Linked DNA regions of Homo sapiens: region 2 is linked to region 1. Evidence: promoter capture Hi-C in human tissues and cell types (Jung and others, 2019). All regions are on one chromosome and are shown on one strand. Each heading gives the region's core, a stretch centred on a gene start or on the middle of the fragment in contact. The rest is flanking DNA. Distances are from core to core; before and after follow the strand shown. Region 1 holds the start of ACD (ACD shelterin complex subunit and telomerase recruitment factor). Region 2 overlaps GFOD2 (Gfo/Idh/MocA-like oxidoreductase domain containing 2).

What was found. Contacts are between HindIII fragments. The study calls those that stand out against the background at their distance.
Region 2: a contact is called between a fragment that was not itself captured here and the fragment with the promoter of ACD in region 1, in 4 of the 25 tissues and cell types used here (mesendoderm cells, pancreas, small bowel and 1 more).

Annotation. Positions count from the first base shown.
Region 1 is chr16:67,658,378-67,663,121 of GRCh38, reverse strand. It overlaps ACD (ACD shelterin complex subunit and telomerase recruitment factor), which reads left to right and starts at 2,862. Exons shown (of 12, transcript NM_001082486.2): 1 at 2,862-3,000; 2 at 3,077-3,219; 3 at 3,327-3,420; 4 at 3,509-3,585; 5 at 3,703-3,747; 6 at 3,859-3,893; 7 at 4,043-4,194; 8 at 4,306-4,402; 9 at 4,481-4,567. The coding sequence starts at 2,902. PARD6A (par-6 family cell polarity regulator alpha) reads right to left here and starts at 2,162. Exons shown (of 3, transcript NM_001037281.2): 1 at 2,021-2,162; 2 at 1,445-1,667; 3 at 348-1,226. The coding sequence starts at 2,083. The coding sequence ends at 475. It overlaps ENKD1 (enkurin domain containing 1), which reads left to right. Exons shown (of 7, transcript NM_032140.3): 7 at 1-177. RefSeq lists silencers at 1,896-2,375, 2,686-2,795 and an enhancer at 2,949-3,532. The HindIII fragment of the contact is 13,160 bases long and covers 1-4,744 here.
Region 2 is chr16:67,694,405-67,699,176 of GRCh38, reverse strand. All of the region lies in intron 1 of GFOD2 (Gfo/Idh/MocA-like oxidoreductase domain containing 2), which reads left to right. Among named protein-coding and RNA genes, the nearest start is that of GFOD2, 23 kb to the left of the region's middle. The HindIII fragment of the contact is 7,245 bases long and covers 1-4,772 here.

The DNA of each region.
Region 1 (4,744 bases), core at 1,613-4,112:
GATCGCCACATGGCTGCAAAGGACAGGGTTGGACCCAATCCCAGAGCAGAGGTCTGAAGACAGGAGCAGGGGGGTGGCCAGTGTCCCTAGAGCACTCTTCCCAGTCACCAGTGGCTGCAGAAGGGCCACCCTAGCCTTTTAACTGCTTTGTCAAAATTAAACATTTTGTACACAGGATTTGTTTCCATAAGAGCTTTTCTTACCCTAAAAATGCCAAGCCTGGTGGCCCTCCTGCTGCTTGATTGCAGGAAGTTCTCCCCAATGTCACTCCTGCCTTAGTCCAGAGCAGAAGGCAAGCTGGTGAGACCAGGGAGGAGGCTGGAACTGGGACACACAAGGACCATGACTGTATTTGTAGAAAACCTTTAATGTTCCCCAGGCTGAGGGAGCCCTGTGAGCCAGCTAAAAACCCCCACTGTGAAGTCCCTGCCATGTCCCAGCAGTGTGGAGTGGCATGGGGCTTCATCCTGACTGTCAGAGGCTGAAGCCACTACCATCTCCTCGAATGCGACTCCCCCAGCCAGAACTGGCCTGCTCCTGGTCATCCAGGGAGGGCAGAGAGCTGCGGGTACCAGGATGTCGGCAGCCAGGGTGCAGGTCCCAGCACGGGGGCCCCTGAGACAGCCCATTGGAACTGGGAGGCTGGCGGTTCTCAATGACCAGGTCACTGCTGTCATCGTCACTATCAGGCTCAGCAGGCCCAGGCCCTGCAGAGGGAGGACCTGTCAAACGCCCAGATGCCCCTCGCACCACGTTATTGCGCTGGTTGGCGGGCTTGACAGTGACAATGAGGTTATGGCTGTTGGCAACCATCATGTCCGTCACTTGGTCCAAGGTCTTCCCGGCTACTTCAATGCCATTGACCTCGAGGATCTCATCACTGACCGCCAGCAGCCCTGTACTCTCAGCCAGACCCCCACGTACCAGGCGGGAGATGAAGATTCCTGGAACCCGCTCCAGGCCCTGGGGAGCCACACGCACGCTCATGCCATCTCGGATGTAGAAGCCCAGGGGGCGGTCTGAACCATGCTTGTGCAGCCGCACCCGTCGGTGGGTCTCAGGCAGTAGGTCCACGTCTATGACTGAGGAAACCTGGCGGAAATCTTGGGGCAGGCTGATTAGCAAGGGTGGCCGGGTGCGCAGGGGTGCCACTGGCCGCAGCAAGAGCCCTTTCTTGCGCCGCTGCAGAGAGTTGGAGGCAAAAGCCAGGCCGCTGGAGTCAGCTTCTGCTGCAGAAGAGGGGGGATGTTGAGATCAGAGACCTGCTCCCCGACTTGGGCTGTTTACAGGGGGCACTGTAGCTATTTCCTACCACTTAGAGGTCAAGCCAAGGGCAGGGACTGCAGAGGGTGACGCTTGGGTACCCTGGGCATGGACTAACCCTTGTAGACCTGCCCCACAGACACCTTACCCCACAGAGGCTGCCCACTGTACCCCTCCTCACCCCGCTTCTGCACCAGTAGGCGCAGTGGCGGGGGCCCGCTGGCCAGGGCCCGGTGCAGGCTGTCGTCGTTGGTGAGGGGCAGCAGGTCGCCATGAGCATCCGTATAGCCAAGTAGCACGTCCAGGCCCGGGATCTGGTGCACCGCCCGCAGCAACCGCGAGAACTCCTGGAAGCCGCTCACCGAAGCGCGAGGCAGCGCGAAGCGTCGGAACTCGGCGTCAAACTGGAAGTCGGGGTTGGGGGAGAGGAGGAGTCAGGACAGCCTGCGCCCCTTTCTCACCGCAGGCTGGCAGGAATGGGAAAGATGCGGCTGCCGCTTTTGCGGCAGCCTTAAGCCCAGACCTCAGCTCCAGTACCAGGGACGCTGTCCAAGGTCTTCTTACCGCCCTCCAGGTACTCAGGCCACAGAGAGCTGGAGACCAGCAGTGGAGGAAGGAAGACGGATGGGGGAAGGCGAGCAGAAAAGCAGAATGGGACTTGGAGGATAGAGGGAAGAGGTGGCGGGGACCAAGGAGCTGGGAAGGGGAGAAAGAGGGAATTGGGAGCGCCTAGGGCCGAGGCCGGAGGAGCCCTTACTTTGCTCTTCACCTCGACGATGCTATCGGGACTGCGCGCCGGAGTCCTCTGCGGCCGGGCCATGGCGGGGCCGGGCGGGCCGGGGACGGTGCCCCAGGCGGCCCGCCGAGGCGCAGGTGCACAGCCCGGCCGGCCCGCCCGCGCCGCCCCGCCCCTGGCGGTAGCACACGCCCCGCCTTCCCATCCGGAGCGTGACGTCAAGGGGGCAGCGACGCAGAGTGGAACGCGGAGTCCACGTTTCCTAGGAAACGGAGCCGTGGATGGAGAGGAGCCGTCCTCCGCTCTTGCGTCATCACGCTGAGGTCCGCGCGCCCCCGGAGTCTGGGGAGCAGGGCTCCGCCAATCCGAGGGGAGGGCGAAGGAAGTACCATTTATTTAGCGCTGTGTGTGTGCTCTTATTTCCACTGGCCTTACAAGACCGTGCACTGTGTAGATGAGGAAACTGAGTCATAATAAATATGTGCTGAACCGTTCGGGGGTCACACGGTGCTGAAATGGTTTCGAGTCAACTCGCTCGGACGGCACTCGGCCTCAGCCTCCGGCCCTGGAACCCTCTCCAGGGACGGGACCAGCCCTTGTTCTGTTCCCTACCGGTACCACAGGAATCTTGACGAACGGCCCAAATGCCTGGCCGCTGTCAGAGTGACGCCGCGATGAGAGTAAACGGGCCAGCATCCCGTGCACCAGCGGGGTGGACCAGCGGGAGTCTGCACACAGGCCCCCGAGCAGGACGCCCTCGTGCGCAGGCGCGGGGTGTACGTGGGCGGGGCCTCCTCCTCCGGCCCCGCCCAGCGAAGGAGCTTCCTCTTCCGAGGAAAGGCGGGGCCTGGGCGCCCGCGGGAAACCCGGGCCCGTTGCATCCGCTGGGTGTAGCCGTGGGGATGGCAGGTTCGGGGAGGCTGGTCCTACGGCCCTGGATTCGGGAGCTGATTCTGGGGTCAGAGACACCCTCCAGTCCACGAGCCGGGCAGCTGCTTGAGGTGAGCCCCCATTCAGGGCCCGGAGACCGAGGCGGAGGCCCGGGGTGGTGGGATTGACGCCGCTCGCCGCCGTCAGGTACTACAGGACGCCGAGGCCGCGGTCGCGGGCCCATCCCACGCCCCTGATACGTCCGACGTCGGGGCCACGCTGCTTGTGTCTGACGGGACCCACAGTGTCCGATGCCTGGTGACGCGGGAGGCCCTGGACACCTCGGACTGGTGAGAGGCCCCGCGCGGCTCTGGAGGTCGGAGTCCGGCAGGAGAGCGCGAGGTGGGCGGGCCTTGTGTTCAGGTGGGCCCGGCAGTGAGGATCCTGCTTGTTGCAGGGAGGAGAAGGAGTTCGGCTTCCGCGGGACAGAGGGCCGGCTGCTGCTGCTGCAGGACTGCGGGGTTCATGTCCAGGTCGCTGAGGGCGGCGCGGTGAGTGGTGAGACTGCCTTGGGCGGGTTACCGGGCATGACTCTTCGTGACGATTCTGAGACCCCCCCTTCCCCCCGAACTCCTCCAGCCCGCAGAGTTCTATCTCCAGGTGGACCGCTTCAGCCTGCTGCCCACGGAGCAGCCCCGGCTACGGGTGCCTGGTTGGTAAGTGATGCCTCCGCCCTCCAGCAGCTCTCCCCACCCCAGCCTGGCCGGCGCTGGCAGACGCCTATGGGGTAGGAGGGCTTGGGCCCCCATTAACTACCCTTCTCTTTTTCTTAGCAACCAAGACTTAGATGTTCAGAAAAAGCTCTATGACTGCCTTGAGTGAGTCTGGGGTTGGGCTCGGGGGCCACGTGTTGTTTGGTGAGGGGATGGTGTATCTAGGTAGACAGGCCTCAGCATGGTTCCTGAGTCCTGGCCACTCTCTTCCTGTAGGGAGCACCTTTCAGAGTCCACCTCGTCCAATGCAGGTACTGTAGAGCTTGACCAGTGATCCTAACACGCTGTGCAGTGATCTCTCCAGCCTTAACCTTATGCTTCCTCAATAAGCTGTCTTCCCCCTCACCCTCCTGGTCCTCCCCTTTAAGCCTTGACTCATCCCATGGTCCCCTGTCCCCAGGCCTATCACTGTCCCAGCTTCTGGATGAAATGCGGGAGGACCAGGAGCATCAGGGGGCACTCGTGTGCCTGGCTGAAAGCTGCCTGACACTGGAGGGCCCTTGCACAGCACCCCCTGTCACCCACTGGGCTGCCTCACGATGCAAGGCCACGGTCAGTCTGGGGATTTGCTTGGGAGATGTCAGGGTGAGGAGTTGGGCAAGGGTCATATCCCACAGGACATGAGAGTAAACGGGCCTGTCCTACAGAGTTCATGTCCCACAGGGAGAAGCTGTGTACACTGTCCCCAGCTCAATGCTGTGCATCTCTGAGAATGACCAGCTAATTCTGAGCTCTCTAGGCCCCTGTCAGAGGACACAGGGTAAGGGGGACTGGAGAGGTTGGGGGGATACCTGGGGCCCAGGTCCACAGTGCTGATAAGACTTCCTGAACCCCCCAGGCCCTGAGCTGCCCCCACCAGACCCGGCTCTGCAGGACCTATCTCTGACCCTCATAGCCTCTCCTCCTTCCTCACCCAGTTCCTCAGGTGAGGTGATGCACAGGTCACAGGCACTCACTGCCGCCTGTCAGTCAGGTTCCCGGGCTGCGCAGGATGCTGTGAAAGGTGCACGGTGGGTGGGGGATGAACACGGTCCCTGCAGTCCTGTCTGAGCTCGCAGGCCACTCAGCTGCCCTGAGCGGAGAGGGCTGTGCCTACAATAAG
Region 2 (4,772 bases), core at 325-2,824, 37 kb before region 1:
TAGAGACGGGGTTTCACCATGTCAGCCAGGATGGTCTCAATCTCCTAACCTCATGATCCGCCCGCCTTGGCCTCCCAAAGTGCTGGGATTACAGGTGTGAGCCACCACGCCCAGCCACATTGCTAGATTTAATTTGCTAATATTTTGTTGAGGATTTTTGTGCCTAAGTTTATGAGACGTATTGGTCTATAGTTCAGTTATTTATTTTATTTTATTTTTTTGGCTCTCCCACCCTGCTGATAATCCCAAATCCTAGTGATAACTGTCTGCTCCATTTCATTCCCTCCATTAGACCCTCCTTATGTCTTACTTGATATCCTAACTGGTTCTCTGTGTCTAATGTCTCCTAAACTCTATCCTACCTACGTCTTTCTGCCAAATTAAAGAAAAAAAATGCAGGCCGGGCACAGTGGCTCACGCCTGTAATCCCAACACTTCGGGAGGCCGAGGTGGGCAGATCACCAGAGGTCAGGAGTTCGAGACCAGCCTGGCCAATATGGGGAAACCCCGTGTCTACTAAAAATGCAAAAATTAGCTGGGCATGGTGGCGCACACCTGTAATCCCAGCTGCTCGGGAAGCTGAGGCAGGAGACTTGCTTGAACCTGGAAGCAGAGGTTGCAATGAGCCAAGATCACGCCACTGCACTCCAGCCTGGGTGACAGAGCAAGACTCCATCTCAAAGAAAAAGAAAAAGAAAAAAAATCCAATGGTTCTTATTGCTTACCTGCATTAGTCAAGGTCTAGACAGGAAACAGTCAGTGTACTCAAAGGGTTAATTAAAAACTCTTTAATGAAGGGATTATTCACAATAGTGTGAGTAGTAAAGGAAACATACAAGGGATAGTGGAGCACCCAGGGACTGGCAAGGTAGTGTCCCCACCCTAGGTGCAATGACGGAGTGGGGATGTGTCACTGGAACCCAGCAAAAGCAATGGCCATGGGAGAGAGGGGTCCTCTAAAGGAGCTGTGACCTTGGTTAAGGAACACAGCTCTGCCAGAACCATATCCTGGGAGGGAGAGAAGGCAAAAAATAAACACCTTGGCCTTTCCTCCTGCTCGCTGATCTCTTCCTGGTTCTTTCCCTTGGCTGGACTCAGATGGAAGCCAGAGGACCTGGAGCCCAGGGCTTTAGAGACTGACCTTCTGACTCCAGAGACAAAAAGCAGGGCAGAGAGGATCAGGTAGGGAAGGAGGAGCAGACCAAGAATACTGAGCACACCCACCTGTCAAAGTCCAAACTCTTGAGATTAACACTTTACGCCACCAGTTCTGGCTCCTACTCACCTTGCTGACTTGTCACCCCTGAAATTAGGACTTTTCATCTTTTTATGTCCCACAGCTCCCTCGTTAGCTCCTCAGAAAAGGTGAGACATTGACCAGATTAGTATTGGTTTTGAACAGTGGATCAGAGGCAAACAGTCACCCCCAGAGCAGACAGTGGAAGGAACTTGCCTGGCTCACACTCATGAGGAAGGATGGAAGAAGAGTTGCTCCACACATGCACATGTTACAAAATGACTCTTTTTCTTTCTTGTTTTTATAGAGGCTCAGAGAAGTGAAGTAACCTGCTCAAGGTTTCATGCTGGTTGTAGCAGGTCATGCACACAGCCAGGCGTGGAACCCTGGGAGAGTTACCTCACCTCTTTGAGCATGTTTTCTTATCTGTACAACAGGGTTGCATGGAACAAGGGACAGACTAAACACTGGCTGCCCTATTATACTCACTTCATATTAGCTCAGAATTATGACCCTCATATTTCTACTCAACTTTTGAAGAAGAGACATCTAAGTCAGTCACAGATAGTTAACAGATATCTTTTTTTCAGAAAAAGATTCCCTATGTACTGACTCATATCTAATTGGCCAGGCCCAATTATAAGTATTCTACAAATATTAACTCAATCCTTAAATCCCCTGTGAGGTAGATAAAATTTCCCCATTTTACAGATGAGGAAATGGAGATACAGAGTGACTAAAGGACTTACCTGAGGTCACCCAGCTGGAAAGTGACAGAGCCAGGATTTGAACCCAGGCAAGGCCTTGTCAAATTGTATATAGCCTGTCCTGCCAAGGCACACTTCATTCCTGACCAGCATGTGGTGATGGGAAATGTATGTGGTCTTGGCAGGACTGGGTTTGTGGAGATCTTTGGAGGCATCTGAAGGATATGTGCAAGGATGTTAAAGACAAAGAGTGGGGAAATTTTAGGGGTGAGAAAGGGTAGCCACTGAAATTAACAAGGAAAACCAGCTCTGCCTGCTTGGGCAGGAAATACCTAGTCAGCAAGCCTGCCTGCCTTCATGCCATCTGGCTTCCTCGGGGGCCAGCCAATACCCCTTTATGGGAGTTGATGAAGCTTCCCTTTGAGTCAGTGGCAGTAAAACAGGTTATTAAAAATTTTTCGGCCGGGCGCAGTGGCTCACGCCTATAATCCCGGCACTTTGGGAGGCTGAGGCAGGCGGATCACGAGGTCAGGAGATCCAGACCATCCTGGCTAACATGGTGAAACCCCGTCTCTACTGAAAATACAAAAAATTAGCCGGGTGTGGTGGTGGGTGCCTGTAGTCCCAGCTACTCGGGAGGCTGAGGCAGGAGAATGGCGTGAATCCAGGAGGCAGAGCTTGCAGTGAGCCAAGAGCGCGCCACTGCACTCCAGCCTGGGTGACGGAGCGAGACTGTCTCAAAAAAGAAAAAAAATTCTAGTCCATTCTGTTGTTTTAAGCTACCGATACTTATATATATTTTTCACTTCATATTGGCTCAAAATTATCATCCTCATATTCCTACACAGCTTTTGAAGAGGAGACATCTAAGTTGGTCATAGATACGTAATAGATCATTTAAAAAAAAAAAAAAGATTCCCGGCCGGGCGCGGTGGCTCACGCCTGTAATCCTAACACTTTGGGAGGCTGAGGCGGGCAGATCACGAGGTCAAGAGATCGGGACCATCCTGTCCAACATGGTGAAACCCCGTCTCTACTAAAAATACAAAAAATTAGCCAGGCATGGTGGCGGGCTCCTGTAATCGCAGCTACTTGGAAGGCTGAGGCAGGAGAATCGCTTGAACCTGGGAGGTGGAGGTTGCAGTGAGCCGAGATCGTGCCATTGCACCACTCCAGCCTGGGCAAAAAGAGCGAAACTCGATCTCAAAAAAAAAAAAAGGGTTCCCTATGTAGTGGATACATACATTCCCTATATATACCCAAATACAACTAGGGTGAGAAGGAACACGGTGTGAGAGTGGAGGAGGTGTGCCCTGGGCATGAATTTAGAGAAGACATGGACTGTGTCTCACTCCCTTAGCCCTGTAACAATTAGTAATTAATGACCAACAAAATTTGGCTGGGCACAGTGGCTTATGCCTGTAATCTTAGCACTTTGGGAGGCCGAGGCAGGAGGATCACCTGAGGTCAGGAGTTCGAGACCAGCCTGGCCAATATAGTGAAACCCTGTCTCTACTAAAAATACAAAAATTAGCCAGGTATGGTGGCGCATGCCTGTAATCCCAGCTACTCGGGAGGCTGAGACAGGAGAACCGCTTGAACCCAGGAGGCTGAGGTTGCAGTGGGCCAAGATCATGCCACAGCACTCCAGCCTGGGTGACAGAAATGAGACTCCGTCTCAAAAAAAAAAAAAAAAAACTTAAGTAGAATCTCACTACTTACCTAATGCTGCATGCTTGACACTGTCAAGCTCCTATAACAGCCATAACCTGTAAATAACCAAGACACCTGTAAAAGCAGACAGTGACCAAATAGCCGAAGGGAGTCCAGGACATGAAAATTGTAGAAGATAACTGTGTGCTTGACCTGTTTTCTAAGAAAACTAGTAGAGAAGCCTGTAGGGGCAGAATTAGCAAAGAGAAAAGAGAGAGATGGTGGCTGGGCTCAGTGGCTCATGCCTGTAATCCCAGCACTTTGGGAGGTCAAGGCGGGTGGATCACCTGAGGTCAGGAGTTCGAGACCAGCCTGGCCAACATGGTAAAACCTTGTCTCTACTAAAAATACAAAGATTAGCTGGGTATGGTGGCGTGTGCCTGTAACCCCAGCTACTGAGGTAGTAGCTGAGGCAAGGAGAATCGCTTGAACCGGAGCGGCAAAGGTTGCAGTGAGCCGAGATTGCACCATTACGCTCCAGCCTAGGCGACAGAGTGAGACTCCGTCTCAAAAAAAAAAAAAAAAAAAAAAAGAGAGAGATGGAGAAAGTAGAAAAGGAAAGCAAGGTGACTGAGTGGCCACAGACAGTTTACCATCAGAAAGAATGAAAGCTGGTTAAAATAAAACAACCCCAGTGAGAGTACAGGAGGCAAGCCAAGCTTCACAGTCACAGAGAGTGGAGACAAGAGGCACGAAATTGGCAGGGATCTGGAGTTAGAGGCAGCCCAAGTCATGTGTAATTTAGTGGTTCACAAAGGAACAGGTGTACTTCAGATAGAATCGAGCAGTACAGGATGTTATACTGGGCTATGCTGACAAACCATCCCCTACTATAGACATTTTCTTAGTCCAGTACACTTGTGTCTACAGTAGGAGCAAAAGAGATGCTGGGCTTGAAAATGAAGTTGAGAAAACAATTTCTCCAGCCGTGGTGTCTCATGCCTATAATCCCAGTGCTTTGGGTGGCCGAGGTGGGAGGATCACTTGAAGCCAGGAATTTAAGACCAGCCTGGGCAACATAGTAAGATGCTGCCTCTATATTAAAATAAAATTAAAAAAAACTTTTTTATTAAAAAGCCAGGCTCAGTGGGTCACGCTTATAATCCCACCACCTT